3 separate regions of the Homo sapiens genome follow, and all the other regions are linked to region 2. The links are contacts of gene promoters, found by promoter capture Hi-C in blood cells and fetal thymus (Javierre and others, 2016). All regions are on one chromosome and are shown on one strand. Each heading gives the region's core, a stretch centred on a gene start or on the middle of the fragment in contact. The rest is flanking DNA. Distances are from core to core; before and after follow the strand shown.

What was found. The method cuts DNA at HindIII sites, captures the fragments that hold promoters and counts their contacts. A CHiCAGO score of 5 or more calls a contact.
Region 1: a fragment that was not itself captured here is called in contact with the fragment with the promoter of SMCR5 in region 2 in 1 of 17 cell types (megakaryocytes); the score reaches 5.6 in megakaryocytes.
Region 3: the fragment with the promoter of RAI1 here is called in contact with the fragment with the promoter of SMCR5 in region 2 in 11 of 17 cell types (megakaryocytes, endothelial precursors, M2 macrophages and 8 more); the score reaches 11.2 in megakaryocytes.

The regions. Positions count from the first base shown.
Region 1 is chr17:17,661,805-17,666,314 of GRCh38, forward strand. No RefSeq gene overlaps it. Among named protein-coding and RNA genes, the nearest start is that of SMCR2, 14 kb to the right of the region's middle. RefSeq lists enhancers at 1,299-1,388, 1,879-2,018. The HindIII fragment of the contact is 158 bases long and covers 2,420-2,577 here.
Region 2 is chr17:17,777,155-17,781,227 of GRCh38, forward strand. SMCR5 (Smith-Magenis syndrome chromosome region, candidate 5) reads right to left here and starts at 2,375. Exons shown (of 1, transcript NR_024007.1): 1 at 1-2,375. The region is part of intron 2 of RAI1 (retinoic acid induced 1); the gene reads left to right. All of the region lies in intron 1 of LOC124903942 (a long non-coding RNA gene), which reads right to left. RefSeq lists enhancers at 1,602-2,491, 3,381-4,073. The HindIII fragment of the contact is 16,515 bases long and covers 1-4,073 here.
Region 3 is chr17:17,679,481-17,683,799 of GRCh38, forward strand. RAI1 (retinoic acid induced 1) reads left to right here and starts at 1,978. Exons shown (of 6, transcript NM_030665.4): 1 at 1,978-2,313. RefSeq lists silencers at 1,699-2,208, 2,239-2,378, 2,439-2,518, 2,530-2,702, 2,689-3,638 and an enhancer at 2,019-2,620. The HindIII fragment of the contact is 10,976 bases long and covers 368-4,319 here.

The sequences.
Region 1 (4,510 bases), core at 1,249-3,748, 120 kb before region 2:
GTGTTTCCCAGAGCTGCTCTCACGAGCTCTCCGGGAGGTGGGAGGGTCACTCAGCCCCAAGCTTTGTGAGATGTTGGGTGTTGGTGTGTGGCCAGGTATATTTACGTATAATTTACATACAATTAAACTCATCAATTTTTAGCATACAATTCTATGGATTTTGACAAATGTGTCAAATCACATAACTGCCTCAAGCCCCCTTGTGGTCAGGTCAGCCTTTTCCCCATCCCCAGTTCCTGGCAACCGCTGATTAGTTTTCTGTCCCTATCATTTTGTCACTCCCGGAATGTCACATAATAGAATCCTGCAGCCTACAGCCTTTCAAGGCTGGCTACTTTTGCTCAGCATAATCCACTTAAGATTCACTGATATTTTTGTACGTACCAGTAGCTTGTTCCTTTTTTTTGAGACGGAGTTTCACTCTTGTGGCCCAGGCTGGAGTGCAATGGCACGATCTCAGCTCACTGCAACCTCCGCTTCCTGCGTTTAAGCGATTCTCCTGCCTCAACCTCCCAAGCAGCTGGGATTACAGGCATGCACCACCAAGCCTGGCTAATTTTGTATTTTTAGTAGAGACAGGGTTTCTCCATGTTGGTCAGGCTGGTCTCAAACTCCTGATCTCAGTGATCTGCCCGCCTTGGCCTCCCAAAGTGCTGGGATTACAGGCATGAGCCACCGCGCCTGGCCATTTGTTCCTTTTTATTGACAAATACTATTTCCTTGTCTGGACATACCGCATGTTGCCTCTCCATTCATCAGTGGATGAACAATGGGCTGTTTTCACCAGTGCACTTGCCTTGGAATCCACAAACTGCAAATGGCAGTGGCCTTGCCCATCCCACCCACACCGCTGCAGTGCGCGGCCTGCTCGTTGGGCCACAGATACATGAACCTCCACCTGCCTCAGGGCCTCTGCACTTACTGTTGCGATGCTTGCGATGCTCTTCCCATGACTCTGGCCTCCTTCCTCAGAACCTCTGCTCATAAGTCACCTCTCTGACCACCCTGTCCTCAGTTTCCACCCCATCACTCTCTGTGCCCTCCTCCTGCTGTTCCTTCTCCCAGCACCCACTGGAGTCTCTGGTTTTGTTTGCTTGTTTGTGTATTGTCCATCTCCCACCAGACTGGAGACTGGAGACCCTCAGCGGAGGAAGTCTCTGTTCATGGCTGTATCCCCAGGGCCTGACACAGAGTGGACTCTAAATATGAGTTGAGTGAGCAGCTGCTGGTACAGGATCACAGGAGGATTAAATGAAATAGCGAGTGTGAGTGCCCTTTGCAACCTGCTGTGCTTATTGAGGGGGAAACAGGCTGAGAAAGGTGCAGTGACCAACCCAGGGCCACCAGGTCAGAGCGATAGACACCCAGGCCTACACCCCTCCCTGGGCCACCCTCCTGTCCACCCTGCCTCAGGGCCAGCGTTCCTAAGGCACATTACACACACACACAGCCCACAGACACCCAGACCGCACACACAGCTCAACACCACACACAGACAAACGCCCTCAATGCAGACATGCCCAGCCTTGCACACACAGGAAGTCCACACACAAACACCAGCACACTGCCTTGAACACGCAGGAATAGCATTCACACGCCCATCCCCCTACACAAACACACAGGCCACACCCACACGCCAAAACACACCCCCAGCGTCAGACCTTGATGACTGACAGCCCAGGACTCCAGTGGGCTTGCGTCGCCATAACAACAGACGGCTCCGAGTCTTGGGCTGTGAGTGTGGTCGGGCTGTGAGTCACAGCTGCAGCAGACGCTCCGCAGAGCAGGAGCAGCCTGGCCCAGTGCGGACTCCCCAGTGCCAACCTCTTATGGACGCAGAGTGGACCCTCTCAGATGGGTGTGCAGTGTCCATTAGCATTACCCACAGGAGGGATGTGGCCCTCAGGTGTCCCCTGTGTGCCACACACTGGCGTGCGCCCAGAGCTTCACACACATTTTCTTGCTTAATCCTCGTGGTGTCCTCACCAAATCAGTGTGGCCAGGGAGACCATTTTACAGATGTTGAAACTGAGGTTCAGGTAGGGGAAGTCCCTTGCCTCACTCAGGTCACACAGTGAGTCACCACCAGGCCTGAAATTTGAATTCAGGTCTACTGAACCATGAAGGGTCCTCTTTCCACTGCCCTGAATCCAATCCAGGGGAGCTCCCAGCTGTGCACACCATTTCCAGACAAGAGCAATAGATTATCAGCTCTCACTTGCACCAGAGTTGGTTCTGCCCTTGTAGAGCTCCCTTGGTAGGTAGTGAGATCCCCATCATGAGCAGCATCCAAGCAGAGACTGTCATAGCTGCTATGGAGAAGCATCAAGTATCAGGGGACAAGGGGTTGGACCAGACGGCCTGGCTTTGAGTTGTAAATGACAAAAAAAATTATTGGCAAACAAAACAGGAATATAAAAGCTTCAGGAACAGCTGGATCCAGCTGTCAGATGTCATCAGGAATCTTCTTCTGGATTTCCCCTTCCTTGGGGTTCACTTTCTTCTCAGAATAACCTTCCCTAGCCTAGGGTAGACCTCACAGCTGCAGGCTTACATCGGTCGTGGCCCCCAAAAGCAAGCTTAATAGATGTTTGTCAGATGAATGCTAGAAGCATGATAAGGTTGCGGGTCTCAGTCTAAGTAAATCCCAACTTGACCTCTGGGAGTCACTCTGAGGAGGCGCAGTGCTCATTCCTGTGTGCCAAATCCCATCATCTCTCAAACGTCGTATGATTGAGTTAGATTGTACTATGCACTTCACAGACATTAACTCATGGAAATCCCAGGCAGCCCTATGCAGTGGTCACAATCTCCATCTCATGGACGGGGACACAGGGTCCCAAAGAGGCAAAGTGTGGTACCTGAGGTAGGGCTAGAGCCACACAGTGCCTTACCAGGCTGAGATCAGGAGGCCGTACCTCTGAACGAGGGCAGGACTGTTCTTCACAGGCAGCTTTCCTCCAAGGAGGCAGAGGACGGCACTGGCACGTTCACTCAGCAGCCAACATTGGCAAGCACCCACTCTACCCCGTGGCCCGGGGTGCCACTGCCCATGGAGCTTGGAGGTGCCAACTGCTGCCAGTGACCTTGGGTAAGTCATTTTGTGCTTGATCCTTGCATCCCCATCTGTAAATGGGCAGGTCACCCCACTCAGAGGGGCAGAACTCATGTCAGTGGTTGAACGCTTCTGGCAGTACAGCCCAATAGAACTTCCTATACCAGGTCCCACAGGGTGGCCACACACCGCTCCTGAACACCAGAAAGTGACTAGTATAATAATAACAATTTTAAAGGCCGGGCGCGGTGGCTCATGCCTGTAATCCCAGCACTTTGGGAGGCCAAGGTAGGCGGATCACAAGGTCAGGAGTTCAAGACCAGCCTGGCCAACAGAGTGAAACCCTGTCTCTACCAAAAATACAAAAATTACCCGGGTGTGGTGGCATGTGCCTATAGTTCCAGCTACTAGGGAGGCTGAAGCGGAAGAATCGCTTGAACCCGGGAGGTGGAGGTTGCAGTGAGCTGAGACCGCACCATTTGTACTCCAGCTTGGGTGATAGAGTGAGACTCTAAAAGAAACACACACACACACACACACAATTTTAAGTTTTATTTCTTTTAAATTGATTGAAATGTACCTAGCTACACGTGGCTAATGACAACCATATTGAGCAGCAAAGCTCCAGGGTTCTAGACAAACAGCAGATATTAATTTTGGTTTTGTTCTGTTTTACTAACCCCACCCCATGCTCCAGTGCAGGCAGCCTGGTCCCTAGCTTGTCTCAGAGAGCTTTGCTGGCCTCCTTTGCCAGACCCGGTGGCCAGACTCATCATGGCCTTGGGACCTTTGTGTGGCTCTGGAGAAGAAAGAAGCTCCCAATAATGGCTGAGATTCAGTTGCCCACCAGCCAGCAGGATAGGGGCTTAGAACAGGATGTAAGATGATTTAAAGAAAAAAAGGGGCTGGGCGTGGTGGCTCATGCCTGTAATCCCAGAATTTTGGGAGGCCGAGGAGGGTGGATCACTTGAGGTCAGGAGTTCGAAACCAGCTTGGCCAACATGCTGAAACCCCATCTCTACTAAAAATACAAAATAATTAGCCGGGCGTGGCAGCCGGCGCCTGTAATCCTAGCTACTTGGGAGGCTGAGGCAGGGGAATCGCTTGAACCCGGGAAGTGGAGGTTGTAGTGAGCCGAGATCACACCACTGAACTCCAGCCTGGGTGACAGAGTGAGATCCATCTCAAAAAAAAAAAAAAAGAAAAAGAAAAAAGGAAGCTGGCTGTTTCTGGCACACCTGGGTTTTCCACTGGGTCTATACCAGGTGCACAAGTGCCTACTCCCCACCTCTATACCCGCACAACCCACCACGTGGACATGCACCAAACACACCCCCCAGCTGTGTGTGGACACAAGCAGCCAACACATGCTCTGTGGCTTACTCCTCCCATGCTCCTGGGCCTGGGCTGAGGGTCCAGCAGTTCACAGAACATCCACGTGGTCTGGGCTTCCAG
Region 2 (4,073 bases), core at 1,125-3,624:
TGTGCAGATGACTTCGGGCCCAGGTTAGAGGGCACATGTAATTTGCATTTGGGTCCATATTGCCAGAAAGCTCTCCAAAGAGGTAGTACCATTTTACCCTCCCATCCCCAACTAGATTGGGCACCTCTTTCCCCATGCCCTCACCAGCTAGGCAGATGCTCTGTGCCAAGAAAACCAAACAGCTGCTTCCCTTACAAATACTCAAGGGCCTGGGCATGTGTGGGGGCCTGAGTCCAGCCTGCACCCGTTACCAACTGCAAGATCTCAGGCAATAGGCTTCACCCCGTGGGGCTCAGTTTCCTCATCTGTAAAACAGTGGTGATTGGATTATGGTGAGAAGTTTGTAGATGCAAATGCCTAGGACAGTGCCTGGAACATCGAGGCCCCAGGTCAGAAGTGGCTGTTCTTACGAGTCTGCATGAGTCTTGTACCCCATGACTGCAGTCATGGGGATGGGGGCCCAGCCCCTAGGATGGATGCTCAGGCCTCAGACCTGTGTTTTGGGAAGGGATGAAGGGAAGGGAAGAGCAATGTGGGGAATTACCAAGGGGAAAGGGTGGGATTAGCTTATCCCAGCTTCCCACTGTGCCAGTGGGGAAACTGAGGCCCAGAGGGGCCCAGGCCTTGAAGTGATTGCAAGTTCAGCAGCATGAAACTGCTCTTTATCCGTGCACTGCTGTCAGGAACAAATGCTGAATGGAGAGTCCGGAGGGTTGCCCAGGCCACTGCAGGACCCAAGCTCTGAGACTGAGGGCTTGGGGACACAGAGCCAGAGCCTTGTCCTGAAATCCTGGAGGGTGCTCCTTGGACAGGACAAAACTTGTATTCTCTCTCTGAGCCCAGCCTCAGCAGAACCCAGAGTCTTCCAGGGCTGAGATCTTGCCGTACCAGCTGCGGTCACAGACCTGCCACACTGGCTTGACCTGGGAGTTCCTTACAGCTGCAGAACCCCTGTCCCACCTGACCCGCTGCATCAAAATCTGCGTCTCACCAGGATGTACACTTTAATGTTTGAGGAGCACTGAGACTCAGCCAGGATGATACTCTACCTGCCTGCAGGTACAGGCCGCTGCTCTATGGGCAGACCTCAACCCTCAGCCCCAGAATGTCCTCCCCAGCTCTGTCGCAGACATACGTGGCTCCCTGGGAGGCATAGAAAGTACAAGACTTGGACCTGGCTCCCCATGAACTGGTGGCCCTGGAAGTTGCTACCTTTTATTGAGCCCCTGCCAGCTACCAAGCACATTATCCCATTTCGTCCCACAACAGCACTGAAAGTTTGCTGTTTAATTTAGAGTATCTTGCAGCTTAGGCACACAAAGCACAGAGAGGTTAAGTAAACTGCCCAAGGTCACCCAGCATATACATATGCAGGAGCTGGGATATGAATCCAGAGCTGACCCCGGCACCAGAGTCTAGCCATTTACAATCAGAGTGGGCATGGGGGCAGATGGTGGCTCCTCTCACCCCTGAAACCGGAGCCCCAGCCCCTATGAGCCCTCACAGTTCATTGGTCTGGCTGTGGTGAATCTGACCTCTCAAAAGCCTCCCTTTCCGGAGCAGAGGCCTGCGATTCTCCATGCTGGAGAGCCCGCCAAGAGGGATTCTCCTACAACTTTCCAGAACACAGCAGTTCTGGGGCCAGGCCAAGCTAGCTATGTACAGCTGGAAGAGGCTCTCTCCCCCAGATGCTGAGTGACTAGAAGCCAAGAGGGAGGGAGTTCTGGAATGGTCTGCAGCAGCTGGAGGTGAGGCCTGAGGGGGCTGGGGCGGGGCCTGGGAAGAGGGGCCAGTGCACAGAGTATTCTGAACCGCAGAAAGTATTCTGTTCACTCTGGGAGAAAAACAAGAGTGTTGTTCAAAACAGCTGGACGCCAGGCCCAGTTGCCCTCGCCTGGTTTTTACTCTTAAACACCTTCGCATTTCATGGCTGTTCCAAAGAGAGAGAAATCAGCCAGTTGTCCATTCAGACACAAGACAAGGCATCAGCCGACAACCAAAGGCAAATATTTTCCGTGGTGAGGAAAGCCTCCCGGGTGGCCCCAGGCCTGCCTCTGGAGCAGTGGCTGGCTGGTGGCTGGCTCTCCCCGAAGGTCGCTGCTTCTGGTCAGCAGACTGCGTGTCTGGGGGACTGGCCAGGATCCGCACCCACCCAGGGAGCGCTGGGGGCAGCGGGGCGGCCATCCTAGGCCCGTAGTAAATGGAAGCTCCCTTCCTGGCATGAGAGCAGCCAGGCCTCCAGGGAGGCCAGGACAGCGTGGGCCCCACAGTTCCCTGTCTTGAAACCCCAGCCCTTGATATCAAAATGGGACCTGTTAGTCTGTTGTCGGGGAGGGGGATTTAACTGCCCAAAGCTCTTAGGCCCTGAGTGAATTTTTTTCAGCACAACAGTAGCTACACACAGTTGAAGAGTGTGGCACATGGCTACATAGGGTTTGTATTTGGTCTACAGATGAAGGAACAAGACCCATGTGGACTTAGGCCTCATTATCATAATTCTGCAGCCCCAGGAGCCAAATCCCCACATGGAAACCCTTAGTAGGTAGCCTGGCCAAGTGGGTAGCGGGAAATCAGTGATGGTAGGCCCTGGGACTTCTCTCTAGTCCCCTCCCCACCCTTTTTTTTTTTTTTTTTTTTTAATAGACGGAGTCTCGCCCTTGCCCAGGCTGGAGTGCAGTGGCGCGATCTTGGCTCACTGCAGGCTCCGCCCCCCGGGGTTCACGCCATTCTCCTGCCTCAGCCTCCTGCATAGCTGGGACTGCAGGCACCCGCCACCTCGCCCGGCTAATTTTTTGTATTTTTAGTAGAGACGGGGTTTCACCGTGTTAGCCAGGATGGTCTCGATCTCCTGACCTCATGATCCGCCTGCCTCGGCCTCCCAAAGTGCTCGGATTACAGGAGTGAGCCACTCCACCCAGGCTTTTTTTTAAGACAAGAGTTTTACTCTTGTCCCCAGGCTGGAGTGCAATGGCGCAATCTTGGCTCACTGCAACCTCCGCCTCCCAGGTTCAAGCAATTCTCATGCCTCAGCCTCCCGAGTAGCTGGAATTACAGGCGCATGCTACCATGTCAAGTTAATTTTTATATTTTTAGTAGAGACGGGGTTTCAACATGTTTGCCAGGCTGGTCTCAAACTCCTGACTTCAAGTGATCCACCCACCTTGGCCTCCCAAAGTGCTAGGATTACAGGCGTGAGGCATCGCACCCGGCCACCCACCCTTTTTTTCTCCCAAGAAAACCAGTTTTCTGAAATTTTCAGGGGGAACCAGGACCTCCTCGCCCATGTCTTTCACCCCTGGGTGCCTGTATCCTGTATTCACCAAAGCCCCACGGGCATCTCCCCGATTGAGGTCCCACCCCTCAGGGCCTAGGACAGGGGGACCAGGGAGGGCCCCCAGAGGCTGGAGTTTGGAATACCCCCTTCTCTTCTCTGGAGCTCAGTTTGCATGTCTGTGAAATGACAGGTGATGTCACCTCCCAGAAGGGCAGTTTGAGAGAAGTAAAATCTATTGAGGCACCTTGGACACAGGAGGGGGTCAGACGGCATCAGCCTTTGAGGGTGCTGCAGTTACACGGCTCCAGCAGTCTGAGCCTTATCAAGACCTTTCCAGATATGAGGGAAGTCCATGCCCAGTGTCTAGCTGGCTGGGGGAGAAGCCCCTTGAGAACCCCCACTCTGTAATGCTAGGCTCTGCATTTGCTTAGGAGGCTGTGTCCCTGTCTCTCCCCTTCTGGGCCAGCCTTGCTTTCTGGGCAGGCCCAGGAGTGTCCCGGGCCCAGCACTCAGAGTCAGCGCTGTCTTTAATCTGTATTCCACAGGCATCCTCACCCCCTCCCCTCCCAGGAGCTAGGAACCTGCCAGGCTTCTTACCTCTCTGCTGGAATCTCCACCCCCCACCAGAGGCTGCCCTCTTGGGGAAGGGGCCCAGCCCTTGAGGCCTGTCTCCTCCAGACTAGCTAAACCACAGAGAGAACTCCATCTCAGGTTCCCAAATAGGCGGTATTCTTCCCCGCCACCAAGCTAGGCAGCTCCTGGCGGCTGGAATGCCCTGCTCCTTTCTCAGCCCACCACT
Region 3 (4,319 bases), core at 728-3,227, 98 kb before region 2:
TTTAGAAACCAGATTTGCCAGGCGCGGTAGCTCATGTCTGAAATCTCAGCACTTTGGGAGTCCGAGGCAGGTGGATCACCTGAGGTCAGGAGTTCAAGATCAGCTTGACCAACATGGAGAAACCCTGTCTCTACTAAAAATACAAAATTAGGTGGGTGTGGCGGTGCATGTCTGTAATCCCAGCTACTCGGGAGGCTGAGGCAGGAGAATTGCTTGAATCTGGGAGGCAGAGGTTGTGGTGAGCCAAGATCGCACCATTGCACTCCAGGCAGGGCAACAGGGGCAAAACTCCGTCTCAAAAAAAAAATACATAAATAAATAAATAAAAATAAACCAGATCTGTCATCCAGAAACCGCACTTAAAACAAGCTTAAAACAACACAGTTCGCACTGGGATCCAGCTCTGTCTTGCTCTTGACATTCACCCTGGGAGACGGGTAGCCAAGTCCAGTAGGAAGGACTGTGGGGACCTGTGTTGATTCTGTCCTGTAGCTTGAGAACCTGGACAGGGGACTTCACCACTCTGCGCCTGTTTCCTCATCCACAAAATGTGATGAGCCGACCTCACAGAGGGGGCACCAGGATCTAATGAGACCATGCACAGAAGGGGCACAGCAGGCCTGGGACAGAGTGAGGGCCCCCCATCTATCACAATACCTTATTTTGCAGATGCAGGATTCACTTGTCCCAGGTCACCCACAAGCTCTGATGCCTTGACCAGCTCCCCTCTGCCCTACCAAAGGACAAATGAGGGAGGCTTCGATGGGGCTGTTAATGGGGTCATATCCCACAGACCCTAGAGCCTGGGTGGGGCTGAGAGGCTTCCCAAGCAGGTGGCAGTGAGCTCCCACCTGAGCTATGGCAAGTAGAGACCTAGGCATGAAATTGCTCCGAGGTCTGTACCTTAAGTTTCATGCAAGGACTCTCTCATTCAACATGCCTCTGTTTAAAGTCTGCCAGTGGCTACCTTCCTTGCACTAGAATTGCAAACAAATTCCTCACTGAGCTCTCTGCAGCCCTGCAGGCTCTGGCCCTCCCGATATGGCTCTGACTTCAATGTGCCCATTACTTGTCCCCTTGCTGACGGCCTCCTCACAATTCCACTTACTCACCAAGTTCTCTCCTGCCTCAGGACCTTTGCACTTGATGTTCTTTCTGCCAATGATGCTCTTCCCAGGAGGGCAGGCCCCTGTAGTCCCAGCTACTCAGAAGGCTGAGGTGGGAGGACTGTTTGAGGCCAGGAATTCAAGTTCGGCCTGGGCAACACAGCAAGACCCTGCCTCTAAAAGAACAAAATGCTCTTCCCAGACTCTACCCATGGCGGTTCCTCTTGCTATTTAGATCTTTGCACAGACAGGCCTCCTTCTCTCTCCCCCAGCCAAGGAGCCCTAGCCGTCACTTCACCTGCTAATTTTCGTCCTAGCACTTACTGCTCTAAAATTATCTTCGTCATGTATCTAAGCATTTGTTTGCTGTCTGTCTCTTCCCACCAGGATGCCAGCTCCACGACAGCAGGGACCGCATTGTCTCTGCTGATTCCTCAAGACTCAGCAAGGTGCCAGGTGCCCAGTAAATGAAGTTTACATGAAGCCAATGGAGTTTTGAAATCGAAAATGTTTCTCAAACTGCAAAGAAGTGGGCACAGGTGAGGGCTAATGGTGGGGTGAGGGTGGGGGCCTGGCCTGACGCTGGAAGCTCCTGTACGCAGGGCGCTAGTGTCCTCCCAGGCCGCACCGGGATCCCACCGCAGAGGCCCCCTCCCGCAGGCCGGCCAGCGGGCGGGGGGCGCGCAGTGGGGCGCGCGGACCGCCAGGGGGTGCTGTCGGGGCGCGCACGGCCCACCTGGCGCCCGGGGCCGCGAGCGAGCGCAGCCAGGCCGCCCGGGAACTTTTTTCCTCGCGCTCTTGCTCTCCTTCTCCCCCCGCGCGTCGCCCGCCCGCCCGTCCGCTCGTCCGCTCTTCCTGTGCGGAGGGGATCGCATTCCTCGCGGCACCCGCGGACACCAGGCAGGCCCGGCCGGGTGCGCGGCCAAGGCCCGCTCCCCGCGTCCCCGGGCGCCGCCCCCGCCCGCGGCTGGGCTCCGAGAGACGAGTGGGAGAGCGAGTGCAGCGAGGGCGAGAGGCGAGCCGAGCAGGCCGCCCTGCCCGCGGCCCTAGCGCCGGCGCGAGGAGGGGGCGCCGCGGCCCACCCTCCTTCCTGCCTGGCCGCGGGCCGGCCGGGCCGCCGCGCCCCGACCCCCATGGCCACCCAGGCCTCCGGGCCGCGAAGTCGCAGCGCCAGACCCAAGGCCCCCGAGTGAGCGCGGGCGCCGAGGTGAGCAGCGAGCGCCGGGGCGCGGGGGGCGCAGTGTATCCTGCCCCGGGGCGGGGGCGGCGCGAGGCGTCGGGATCCTAGGCCGGGTGATGAGCCGAGGCGGGTTCGGACGCCGAGCGCGCGCGCTGGGTGGAGATGTGGGGTCCGCGGGGTCCTTGCTTTGTGTGGTGTGGGGGGTGCGCGAGGTCACCGGATGGACGTCTGGGGAGCTGCAGGGTGGGGGCGCCCTGCGCCGCGGCTGAGGGTCTTCTGGGGGATGTGCGGCCAGCTGAGGTCGGGTGGGGGCATGGGGGCGCGAGGGGCGAGTGTGGCAAGGGATCTGCTTGCGCCGAGGCGCGGAGTCTTTGCGGAGCGTGGGGTGGGGACGTGGGGTGCATTCGCGGGGCGCCGGGGGCGGAGGTGAGCTTTGTGAGTGCGTCCGAGGTGGGGGACGGGGAGCTGACTTCCCCATGCGTGACCCGGGCCCGGCGTGGCCATCGCTTGGGAGTCAGGGCCGGCGAAGGCCGTGCGTGGCGAGATGGGTGCTCGGGCTCTCTGCGGTGTCCCTACCCGGGCAGCGGCCCCGGGGCCTGTGCGCAGGCCCCGAGGCCGGGCAGGAAGCGGCCCCCGCGACCTGGGGAGCTCTGTAGCGGCCAGGCCCGGGAGGCACGGGCCCTTCGGGGATGACGTCACGGGCGGGGGCCCCGGACACGCGAGCCTTGCGCCCCACAGACGGCGGCGCAGCCCGCCGCCCTTTTCGAGGCCGGCCCCCCCTCTCACGCGCCTTGAAGGCAGGGAACCCGGGAGGAGGACATGGGGGCCGAGTGCGGCGGGGACAAGGGGTGGCAGGACGCGAGGGTGACATTTGGAGCCTGGTCGCGCCAGGGGCCTCCGTGGTGGGGCGGAGGGGAAGCGAAACACCAGCCAGGCCCTAGGCCGTCGCGGCCCCAGCTTCCTGGGGCGCCCGTTTTCCCGGCTAGCAGTTTTCTTTCTTGGGGCTCTTGGTCGTTATCCAGTCCACGCAGGGGCCGGAGTGCGGGCTGCCGCGGTGCTCTCCTGCGCGGAGCCCGGGCTGGCGGGGGCGCGGCGGGCCTCGGGCTCTGAATGGATGGGAGCGAGTGTAACAATGCGCCGGTGGGGGCTGGGGGAGGGGAGGCCGCGCGCCTGAATGGCGGAGCCGGCCGGGCGCTGCTCCGCGCGCCGCACACTCTCCCGCGCCGCCTTCCCCGCGGTTTCGGCGGGCCCGGATTCAGGGACCCACTCGGGATCTGCACGGTTCCTCCCACCAATACTGTCCCCCGCCCCCCTTTTATGTCTTTCCAATGCAGTAGTGTGTTGAGAATTCAAGGGCATTACATCTGGTTGCAATCCAGTTTCATGCCGCTGCCGGGCTGTTAAGACCTCGCGCTGACGTCAGAGCAGGGGAATTACTTCTTTTTATTTTATCTTTTTTTAGTTGTCTGCTGCCCTGGGAGGAGAGGCGGGGGTGGGTTAGGCTAGCTCTGATGTGGAGGCGCCAGCGTGATGGGAGCCCCGAGCTGGGGGCTCTGCTTCTCTTCCTGCCCCTGCCCCCCTCCATTCTCCATACAGTCCTCGCTCTGCTCAGGGTCAGGCCCACCCCAGGTGGGGGGCAGCCCTCGCTGCAGACTGAATGGTGGCCCCTCCCTGCTGACCACACAGCTGGGTTTTCAGAGGCTTTCCTGGGACGTGGCCCTCGGGATCTAGAAACTGGAAAGGAATCTTCTAGTTTCCCACCCCTCCCCCTCTTGACAGGCAAGCCGGTATATTCGGGGCCCAGGAGCAAGGAAAAGTGGCCTTTTGCGTGACACAGAAGTGGACACATCATTCTGATCTCAGGGCAGGCTCAGCCCCATAACTCTGGCAAAAGCTCTCACAAGCAAAAGCCTTGGAGAGGAGGAGAATGTATCAAGGTGAGATCCAGGCCCCAGAAGCCAACTGTGGAGTGGGCAAAATAGGACCTTTCCCACCAGCCTAGCATCCCTCTGGCTTCTGTGGAGATAAAGGGA